Linked DNA regions of Homo sapiens: regions 1 and 3 are each linked to region 2. The links are contacts of gene promoters, found by promoter capture Hi-C in human tissues and cell types (Jung and others, 2019). All regions are on one chromosome and are shown on one strand. The core of a region is centred on a gene start or on the middle of the fragment in contact, and the rest is flanking DNA. Distances in the headings are between cores, read along the strand shown.

Region 1 (3,794 bases), core at 538-3,037, 1.1 Mb before region 2:
AGGCTAAGATTCAGCTGATTTTCCAATGCTAATCATGAGAGTGGAGGTTGTTTATGGAAGCTGAACAATATGACTTTCATCACCAGGCAGTGGCCCCTGGGCAAAGACTCCAGGGTCTCTGGATAAGAAGAAACTGATAGGGAAAAATGGAGAGCACTTAGTTCACCATGGCAGAAATGCTGCAATAAACAAACCTAATGAAGAAGAAACATAAATCCAGATCAAACCAAGAATGGTTATTTTAGCTTCCTTCTCCTCCTTCTCCTTCTCCTCCTGCTTCTCCTCCTCCTCCGGATTTTTTTTGTCCCTTTATCAATGCATCATTTTTCAACTCTGTCACTTCCACATAACACAGCCACCATTTGCTGTTCTCAACTTTTCCTTTTTGTATTTGTTTGACACTAACTTTTCCCACAGTCTGTAGATTTTTTTTGTCCTTTTCTAATAGTTCGTGTTTTAGAAATTCAGAACAAACAATTTCTGAATGCTCCTCAGAACGCCAACTCAGGCAGAGAATCTCACCGAAATAGAGAAGAAGCTCATGCTCCTGGAAGAAACAGCCCGAGGAGAGCCGCTGGGCCACATCTGGCCACTGTCCGCAGCGCTGTCAGATTGCTGGGGCCACATCTGGCCACTGTCCACAGTGCTGTCAGATCCAAGGAGAGCCGCTGGGCCACATCTGGCCACTGTCCACAGCGCTGTCAGATGCCGACCAAACCCTGCTTTGGTGTTGAGGTGGTTCGTCTGGTAGCCTCCTTTCTTAAGGGTATTTAATCTGCTGCAAATTGTTTTCATGTATGCAATAGATGTTACTGTAACTGTTTTATAAGGTGCATTGTCTTCACCTTGGCAGGCTCTGTGCCAGTCTGTGTCTAGTCTGATGCCATTCCTGCACACATACATCCATGCCCCAGCATTTGGAGGGCTGGAGTTAGGAATAATCCTGTTGGTGACTTATTATTAACTATTGTATGGGACTTATTATGTATCTTCATGTTCTACTGTTCCCACCTCCCAAACCCCAAAAAAGGATGAGATCTGTCTTATAACAAAAACATTTACGATAAGGCCAATACTATAAAATAAGTAATAAAGTTAATACCAACAAAAAGAGAAGTATTAATTACTGCTGCAGTTAGGGTTGACATTATTCCTATGATTGAGCTTTGAAGACATTTCTAAGCAGTAATAAACATGAACCAAACGTCGCACAGTTCCATTCATGGTCCTGATCTGAGAGAACGCATTCCTAGATGGACACCCACTCCCTCTCCCAACTGCCCAACTCATCAGTAAATGGAGTTTGATTTAAGCCAAACCTAATGCAGTACTTCCCTGTACTTGAGGTTTTCCTTCTGTGATTTCAATTACCTCTGGTCAACGAGATTCAAAAATATTAAATAGAAAATTCTAGAGATAAACAATTTACAAGTTCTAAACTGCATGCCTTTCTGGTAGCATGATAAAATCTCATGCTGTCCTGCTCTGTCCCACGTGGAACATGAATCATTCCTTGTCCAGCATATTTACTCTTCATAGCAGCAGTCTAGGTTATCAGATTGACAGCGCCCAAGAAGAAAGGTGAGTTAAGTACAATAATATATTTGTAAAGAAAGACCATGTTTATGTAAGTTTTATTATAAAATATTATCATAATTGTTCTATTTTATTATTAGTTGTTATGGTTTATCTCTTTCTGTACTTAATTTATAAATTAAAATTTATCATAGGTATGAATATATAAGAAAAAACAAAATATATATATAGGGTTTGGTACTATCCACAATTTCAGCTATTCACTGGAGTCTAGGAAGATATTTTTCATGGATAAGGAGGGGGTTGGGGTATAGGAAAATAAAATTAAATATGCAAAAATGTCTAATCATATGACTAAAGAAAGTATACACATGACATTGGAAAAGATAAAAGGATCAGTAGTCATTATAGCAGCTTCAAATTTAGAATGCATATTTACAATTGGTAATACATTTATAGCAATTTATTCATGATGGGTGGTAAGAAGAGAGTAAACAATCTTTCATTGGTAAATCTTTTTGAGATATCTCATTGCTGAATACTTTACATGCTATCTCATTGAATGTTTATGAGGATCTCAAGAAGTAGTCATATTCCTAATAGAGAAAAAAATACTTGAGTTTTTTTTTTTTTTTTTTTTTTTTTTTTTGCTATTTCAGTGTTCCCTTTTCCTTTGCCAGTCCTCCAATAGCTGTTCAATGAATCTACATATTAAGTTTAAGGCTGACTCCATCTCCCGAATCACAGTGGTCATTCTGCCTCTTGGACTGACTCCATTCTTCATTTATTGAGTCCCTGTGGATATAGAGCCTCAGCTCTTGTCATCCCCTAAGGAAAGTGTTGGTCTGAGAAGTGAAACCAAGCTGGCACAGCACTGTAGGCCTGGGAGGGAAAGTGACACATGCCTGCATCCCAAGGAGTGGGGATGGTGAAATCATGAGGGACTCAATGAGGCTATCATTTGGGGTGCCACTGGAACATTGATTAGTGATGAAAGAGGAGAGACCATTGTCCTCCTGAGAGAATAAATCTGGTCCTCTTGGTGTCTCCTTTCCAAGATCACCTCGTTCTTCCTGTCTTACCGACTTCTCAGCTTGAGTAAATAAACCCTCCAGTGAATGGGGCCATGGGAAATTTTAGTCTATCTATCTCTACATCACTGAACATGTTGGACTTCACTGATCTTAAGCACAAACATCATTTTTCCTCTTATCAATGATCTTTTAGCATTTTAAGCAACTTTTATATAACAATACTTTTGTTTTAATATTTTTTCTGGTATCTTGTCTCAGTATCTTCCCATGTAGAACAACTCTATATATCACAGAACTGCTAAAAGCAATTAAATATGGCATATTGAGTTTTTAAATTACATTCTCTTCATTAAAATAACCAGAGTGAAATTTTATTAGTAAAAATAATGAAGTAAGAGCCTCTGAAAATCTCCCCCTCCATAAAAGCAACAGAAATCTGAAAAGAATTGTCAGATTCAGTGTCAACTTTTTCAAAACATAGGCAATTAACCAAAGGCTTAAAGAATGTTAGAAGCATGTATTAAAAAAAGGCTAGATCTCCACAAGAACTCAATATTTGTGTTTTAACTTGCCATAGGTGCACCCACCCTTCCACAGTGAAGTCATAGTCTTGAAAAATAACAGCATTTCTATCACAGAAAGGAGCAGAATGGAGTTAGATCCTAATTCCCAAAGAATTGCAATTATTTGAACTGTCTGGTGGTTCCCTAGAAAACTGGGCTGGAAAGGATTTTCTTTATGTAACCTTACTTAGATCTTATGCGCTGTTAAAAACATCTACAAAAAGAGTGGTTGAGAGGGAATTTGAAAAAAAAAATTATAGGCAAGTGTTGTAAATGTTGTGTTTGCCAGATATGGTGGATAACAGTTGGATCAAATAACATATATTAACCAGAAAGCTTAAAAGAGCCTGCTGAAAAGCAAGATGTTCACAGAGATTTTAAAAATATCAGACATATTCATGGAAATATAGACATCTATAAATATATGTAGAGCTATGCACATGCTCAGGAAAGTATCTGTGAAAGCCCTAAGCTCTCACTTTTGGCTGAGTTTCAGGCTCTGTTCAAGCAGAAAGTGAAGGCTAAGATAGATTTTTAAACCATTGAAGACATGCCTTAACACACATGCAGAATTCCCTCAGCAAAGACTGGAATATTTATTGGTCTTAGGTGTTTAAAGAAATACCTGGCCAGGTGTGGCGGCTCATGCCTGTAATCCCAG
Region 2 (3,894 bases), core at 550-3,049:
ATGGCCCCTATGACCAAGATGTTCTCCAAGAGGCTGATGACACCCAGAGTGAGAAACACCTCCACAGCAATGCCCATGTCTTCACATGGTGAAGACTTGTTTTTGACATTGGGTCCTGAAAGGTTGCCCTCTGTGGCATTCAGGTTGAGATCCAAGAAATGCAGGTGAAATGAGGAATTCATTGCTGGAGAAATACACCTCTTGTCTTGGCAGCAAATTTACTGTAAAACATGTTTTAAATTCACAATCCAAAGAGGTTAGCAGCCTACCAAAGAAAGACAGCAGCTAGCCTAGAACCAACACAGCCTAAGAAAGGGGATGAATGACACAGTGCATCAGAGGACTGGGCTCGGCTCACTCAGTCCTTTTTTTTTTTTTTTTTTAAGAGACAGGGTCTCCCTATGTTGCCCAGTCTGGTCTCAAACTCCTGGCCACAAGCGATCTTCTCTCTCAGCCTCCCAAAGTGCTGGTACTACAGGGGTGAGCCACGTGCCCGGCAGCTGGCTTGCACATTCTGACCTGCGTTCCTGAGACCTGGAAGAGTGCCCCTGGACACGCAGATTAGAATCTTCACCAGCCTCTTCTGCTCTCCTTGCTTTCAGCTCCCAGCCTTTCACATGCATCTTACTAGAGAGACACTCACCTCCAAGTGCCCAGGACAGTTTCACTTTTTATGGCTTCTCTCCTGGGCTCAAGTTCACTATCATAAGTGTCCCCAACTCATAACCTACAAAATCCCAGCCAGTCTCCCAATGTTCACATTCCTAAGGCTACTGCACGACATTCTCCTCAAGGGAGCTCCGATTTAAGACTGCCCAGACCCGTATTCCCTTAAGACAGACAGACAGGTGCATCCCTAACACTTGTCCTGACACTTCTTAGACCCATCAGGATTCAGCCTCCACAGCTGTAAGTAAGGCTATAACCAGAATGGTCTGTTACCCTGAGCAAAGTCACATGTTAAAAGCTACTGTCTTAAGTTTGTAAGTGTAGGCTGCACATACGTGTTAAAATTGAGGAAAACAGTGCTGCTTTTCCCTCAATACCTATTTTTCCCTCGCTTCTGCATTATGTGGAATTCCATGAGGTCTGCTTGATAGTTTATTAGGTCCGCGTGAGCACAGTATTTAAAAAAAAAAACAGCAATTTAAATGTACCACACTCCTTTGTTGCAAAATTTCTCTCTTATGATTCATTTTCAAAAATCCCTTTGCCCTCCAAACTCAGATCACATCTGGAGAGAATTTCTGTCATCACTGTCATCATTAATATTTGTAATCACTTTGGGAGGGAGGGAGGGGGTGAGGGACAACAAATTACTTAATAGGTACAATGTACACTATAGGGGTGATGGCTACACTAAAAGCCCAGTCTCCACCACTATGCAATACATCCATATAACAAAACAGCACCTGTACCCCCTAAATCTATAAAAATAAAAAAGGAAAAAATTGGTAATCTAAGCATTTATTGAACTACAATCATTTGTTACAGCTGAGTTCCAGCTCAGATATATCGGTAAATTATGCAATTATACTAAACATCATATCGAGCTGTGTTAAAAACTCACGGGGCAAGCTAGCTGCCGCCCCGCTCACTTCCACATGCAGCGGAAGCGCGATTTTGCATTTATTCTCAGGATCTCAAGGAGATAGAAAGTTGTGGCTATTTACCGGTGCTCCTCCTCGCGGGCCGCGGCGCTCAGCCCGGGCCCCCGGCGTCCCCGGGATCCGACGGCCGTGCGGCGCTCAGAGCCAGCCCCGGACGGGCCTCTCCCCCAGCTAGGCGGCTGCGGCTCTGCGGGGCTTTAAGCCTCCTGCCTGCCCGCGCCGGGCCCGCCTCCGCACCGCCGGCTGTCGCTCCGGGCGGCCTCCGCTGCCACCTAGTGGCCCAGCACGGCACAGCGGCCAGAGAACCGCGTCAGCCCCGAGCGAAAATCCCCCCGAACACACTCTTGAATGGTTGGATGGTTGCTTGGTTGGTTGGTTGGTCGGTCGGGTCGGTGGGTCGGTCGGTCGGTCGGTCGGTCGGTTGAATGGTTGGTTGGGTGAGTGGTTGCTTGGTTGGGTAGTTGGTTGGTTGAGTGGGTGGGTGGGTGGTTGCTTGTTTGGTGATTGGTTGGTTGGGTGAGCAGGTGGTTGCTTGCTTGGTTGGTTGGGTGGTTACGGGTTAGTTAGTTGGGTAGGTGGGTGGTTGCCTGATTGGTTGATTGGTTGATTGGTTAGGTGAGTGGATGGTTACTTGGTTGCTTGGCTGGTTGGGTGGGGGGTTCGTTGATTGGGTAGGTGGGTGGTTCCTTGGTTGGTTGATTGGTTGGTTGGGTAGGTGGGTGGTTGCTTGGTTGGTTGATTGGTTGGTTGGGTAGGTGGGTGGTTGCTTGGTTGAGTGAGTAGATGGTTACTTGGTTGCTTGCTCGCTTGCTCGCTTGCTTGGGTGGGTGGGGGGTAGTTGGTTGGGTAGGTGGGTGGTTGCTTGGTTCGTTGATTGGTTGCTTGGGTGGGTGGGTGGTTGGTTGGGTGAGTGGATGGTTGCTTGGTTGGTTGATTGGGTAAGTGGGGGTTGGTTGGGTAGGTGGGTGGTTGCTTGGTTGGTTGGTTGGGTCAGTGGGTGGGTGGGTGGTGGGTGGTTGCTTGGTTGGTTGGTTGGGTCAGTGGGTGGGTGGGTGGGTCGTTGGGTGGGTGGTTGCTTGGTTGGTTGGTTGGGTCAGTGGGTGGGTGGATGGGTGGTTGGGAGGGTGGTTGGTTGGTTGGTTGGTTGGCTGGGTCAGTGGGTGGATGGATGGGTGGTTGGGTGAGTGGTTGCTAGGTTGGTTGGGTCAGTGGGTGGGTGGATGGGTGGTTGGGTGGGTGGTTGCTTGGTTTGGTTGGTTGGGTCAGTGGGTTGGGTGGATGGGTGGTTGTGTGGGTGGTTGGTTGGTTGGTTGGTTGGGTCGGTGGGTGGATGGATAGGTGGTTGGGTGGGGGAGTGGTTGGTTGGGTCAGTGGGTGGGTGGATGGGTGGTTGGGTGGGTAGCTGCTTGGTTGTTTTTCTGGCTGGTTGCACTTTTTGTTTCTTTTCTCTTCCTCTTGAGCACTGATTAAAATGCTCCCGAGCTCAAAGAGGGCTTGTCACCCCGTTTCTCCTGGACAGTGGTCTCTGGGATGTCCTGATGATTGTTCTTTGGGAAGGAGGCCCAGTGCCTGGGAGCCCTCATCTGTGGCCCTACCACGCCCCTCTTTGCCCAAGGCTCTCACCCCTCCTCCAGGACTACACATGCCATGCCAGGCTTTATCAACCACACAGGCTTTCCTTACTCCAGCAAAAAAGAACAAAGGATGTCCTCTCACCAAATATCCTGGCCTTTCGCAATAGTTTCTGGACCCCACTCCTTCTCTGACACCTAAAACTGACCTTCAACCCCCAAAAGAATCATTATACTCACAATAAGCAGAAGTGCCACTGCCCTGCAAGCCAGGGCAGGATGCACGGGGCCATATCACTACCAGAGCTTTCCTTGGGCTTTGCAGATGATCACAACCTTCCAGTATTTCAAGTGTGGGGACCACAGTCTGGCTGGCCTCACGCCACTGGAGTCCCAAGCCGTGCTGGGAGCCACAGGGTGGAATTCTAGAAGGAGGTTCTGAATGTTGAGAATACATATTGGGAATGTGGTGTGAGGGAGGGAACCCATTTCCGTGTGTTGAAAACATCAGCAGGGTCAAGCACTCCCACATATAGTCCTCACATCCAAGATCAGATCAGAGAGGGCTCTGCAAAAGGTCCTGGTGTCCCAGGAAAGTGCTCAAAATGGAGGGCTCTGTGCAAGATGAGCAGCTGGACCACAGCAGGCGGCCTCCCACAGTGGTGAGGGCGGCTGGCCCAGGGGCCCTATGTGCAGGGGTGACCCTGAGTGCT
Region 3 (3,566 bases), core at 373-2,872, 1.1 Mb before region 2:
GTCAAAAGCCTAGTGGGTTTCCATGTGACGGAAAGTCTGGGCATTGAGGAGGGGTGGAGGTGACCAGGAATTAAGGGGTTACCAGATGCTGGGAACAGAAATGGGTGTTTGACATGCAGAGTTTTCCAGATCACTGGAGATCAAAATACTCGTCCTTGTTCTAGAATTTTTAGTCTCTGGTGTGTGACCTTGGGTAAGTCACATTTCCACTCTAGGACACTTCTGCCTCATTTGAAAAATGAGAGGTTTGGACTAAAGAGCCTCTAAAGTCTCTTCCATCTTAAGAGTCAATGGTGAGCTGTCATTTGGGTGATGCACACTCTTCGTAGCATCCCCTGTCACTAAAGACAGTAGCCTGGCAGGTCATTACTGCTGAAGAGAGCTTCAGGGCTCTGGGTGCAGGGCTGCCAAATGCCACCTCGCAGCACAATCACGGAATCTCCAGGAATGCTTCTGTAAATGCTGATTGCTGGGCCAGCATAACTCTACTAAATCATCATCTTCTGTGGTAGGACTGGCAAGTCTGTATTTCCAATGACTTCTCTGCTGAGTACAATGTCCCCAGTTTTCCAAGCACCAAAGTGAGGCCAGCACCAAACTCCTGACTTTAATTAGCCACAACTAGGTTAGCAGAAAATTATCAGAGCATTCAAGGCAAATGCTATTCTACAATGAGCTTCTACCTGGAGATCTGTGAGGACCAGCAGAGCCACGAGGATGCATCATTCTCAGGAAGCTCAGCCACCGTGCTGGGGAAGGAGCCATCCTAGTGGATAGGGCCTGTGGACACCCCATGCTGTTTCAGTTGTGTGGGTTGGGGAGACTCCAGGAAGGGCCTCAGCACTTCCTGGGTGTGGAAGGTATAATAGGTGGCTGGACAATAGGAGTGTGGTGTGTCTACCCCATAGCACACCCAGCGTCCATGGCCTTAGAGGAAGCAGAACCTCTTTGATAGCTTAGAATTCACATCCCACACTCTCCTTCCTCTCCACTCTCCAGCTCTTTAGTTTTCTTACAGGGATGGAGTCCTCATCAGAGAAGACCATGGCCTGAAATCATTTGAGGGGTGGGTCAGTTGCATTAATTTAACTTCAGAGGAGTCCCTCTGCCCCAGGCTCTGCACCCCACCCACCACCCACCTTCCTCCCAGAAACTCACTGCCCTGCCCTTGTGCGGCCTTCTGAGACCATTTAGTGTATATTTCACTCAAGGAAGGCCTCACTGACAATCCAGGCCCAGGTCACCATCCTTCTCTGTCGGCCCAGCCTCTCAGGGACTGGCCTGGGATGGACCCTGGCAGATGCAGCCTGCCTTCTGGAGGAACCCACCTGGCGAGCCAGTGTCCTGCTTCTTCCCCCTATTCACTCACCTGAGCCACACACCTGCATATGCCACCCTTTATCTCAGGATGTTCTTAAGGCAATACATTCATCTAACATGGCTGAAGTATCCTCACATGACCCCTTCCCATCTACCTGTGAGGGAAGCCACTTACTCATCCAGAGCCCTGGACTTGCCGTTCCTTCTGCCTGAAGTCTGCTTTTGCTGGGACTCCATCTGGCTGCCTCATTTTCCTCATTACCCTGTGAGATGAAATGTCATTTCCTCAGAGATTTCTCCTGGATCATTTCCCCAGTCACCACCTTCGTTTATCTATTACACCTAGCACTATATGAAATGCACACACACATACACACACACATGCATGCACATATCTTGTAGTTGCCGTTGTTATCCACCCACCAATCCCCAAATGGTGAACTCCATGGGGCAGTAACTTTGCCCGTCATAGTCAATCCTGTTTCCCTAGAACCTAGAAACAGGTACACTCCAAGTCCTCAACGAATACTTATTATGTAAAGTTTGATGCTAGAATAATTCCATGAATTAAAATATCCCAGTATCCTATTCTGGAAAGTAAAAAAATTGGACTCATTGTCCTCTGGGATCTCTTTGAGCTTATATAGGCCTGAAGAAACTATTATTTTTTCAAAAAAGAGCAGTGGGAATAAGGGCCTCGTGTAGGCCAGGGACACAAGCGCCTATCACTGAAGCTTTGAAGTCTAGTGGGGAAGACCTCCTATGAACAATGGGCATCCAGACCTGTGATGAGTGAATGGTTCTACAGGAGGATGGACATTACTCTGTGGTGACGTGGATGGAAAATTCTCAGGGGTGTCAGGGAAGGCTTCACACAAGAGAGACAGTTGAGCTCATCTTCAGGGGTGAGTTGGAATTCACCTGATGGAGAATGAAGTTTGGCATTTCAGGCAAGAGAAAGAAAAGGTCGTAGGCATATGCATTTGGAGGCACACGACTCCTCTAAGAAACAAGGACGGACACACAAGGGTGAGAGCCACGCAGGGTGGAAAGCCTGGATGAAGGAACAGATGTGCCCAGGGCTGAGTTTGGAAAGCTCTGTGTTCTGGTAGGCTGCTGAGAACCACAGAGCCAACAGAAGTCCAGTACACAGATTTCATTACAGTCACAATAAGCTTTGTTTCATTTTTAATCAGAGGAATAGTTCTAGTTTAGAAAGACTGGAATGGCAGCTGTGTAAAGGATGAAGAATAGAGACGCATGACCAAAGGTAGGGAAGTACCTAAAAGTGACTGCAGTCCTTCAGCTGAGAAACAATGAATGGCCCCACTCGGCAGATTTTGAGAATAGTCAATGAGACAGATTTAAGAAAAATATATCACCAAAATTTGACAGAACATGATTAACATATTAGTCAGGGTTCTCCAGAAACAGTACCAATAGAGGAGGGAGAGGCAGAGGGAAAGGTTGAGGATTATAGAGACTGAAAAGTCTCACAGTCTTCCATCTGCAATCTGGAGACTCAGGAGACCAGTGGTAGCCCTGTGAACCAGAATAACCAGTGGTACAAGTTCCAGTTCCAGTTCCAAGGCCGGAGAACAGGATCGCTGATAGTGAACTTCTGGCCTGAGGGCAGGGGAAGACCAATGTCCCTACTCGGGCCATCTGACAGAGAAAATGTGTTCTCCTTCCTCCACCACTTTGTTCTTTCTGTTGAGGCCATCAGCTGATTGGGTGATTCCAAGCCACATCGGGAAAGGCAATCTTCGTCATTCGGCCTACCAGTTCAAATGCTTCTATCATCCAGAAACATCCTCACAGATTCATCCAGAAATATGTTTAACTAAATATCTGTTTTGGGCACCCTATGGCCCAATGAGGCTGACACATAAAATTAACATCACATGGCCAGGCGTGGTGACTCGCGCCTGTAATCCCAGCACTTTGGGACGCCGAGGCAGGCAGATCGCCTGAGGTCGGGAGTTAGAGACCAGCCTGGCCAGCATGCTGAAACTCTGTCTCTACTAAAAATACAAAAATTAGCCAGGCATGGTGGCAGGTGCCTGTAATCCCAGCTACTCAGGAAGCTGAGGCAGGAGAATCGCTTGAACCTAGGAGAGAGAAGTTGCAGTGAGCTGAGATAGCACCATTGCACTCCAGCCTGGGCAACAAGAGTGAGACTCCACTAAAAAAAAAAAAATTACCATCACACACGGTCTTGTTTCACCCAGTTGTTCATTCCTAAG

The links. The method cuts DNA at HindIII sites, captures the fragments that hold promoters and counts their contacts. A contact is called where the count stands out against the background at its distance.
Region 1: a contact is called between a fragment that was not itself captured here and the fragment with the promoter of MC5R in region 2, in 1 of the 25 tissues and cell types used here (bladder).
Region 3: a fragment that was not itself captured here is called in contact with the fragment with the promoter of MC5R in region 2 in 1 of the 25 tissues and cell types used here (lymphoblastoid cells).

Annotation. Positions count from the first base shown.
Region 1 is chr18:14,956,616-14,960,409 of GRCh38, reverse strand. The region is part of intron 1 of LINC01443 (long intergenic non-protein coding RNA 1443); the gene reads right to left. Among named protein-coding and RNA genes, the nearest start is that of LINC01444, 12 kb to the left of the region's middle. The HindIII fragment of the contact is 4,662 bases long and covers 1-3,794 here.
Region 2 is chr18:13,822,054-13,825,947 of GRCh38, reverse strand. MC5R (melanocortin 5 receptor) reads right to left here and starts at 1,799. Exons shown (of 2, transcript NM_005913.3): 1 at 1,674-1,799; 2 at 1-221. The coding sequence starts at 182. RefSeq lists silencers at 1,595-1,684, 1,695-1,984, 1,950-2,130. The HindIII fragment of the contact is 21,381 bases long and covers 1-3,894 here.
Region 3 is chr18:14,927,928-14,931,493 of GRCh38, reverse strand. It overlaps a transcript of ANKRD30B not described here. Among named protein-coding and RNA genes, the nearest start is that of LINC01443, 17 kb to the left of the region's middle. The HindIII fragment of the contact is 4,206 bases long and covers 1-3,566 here.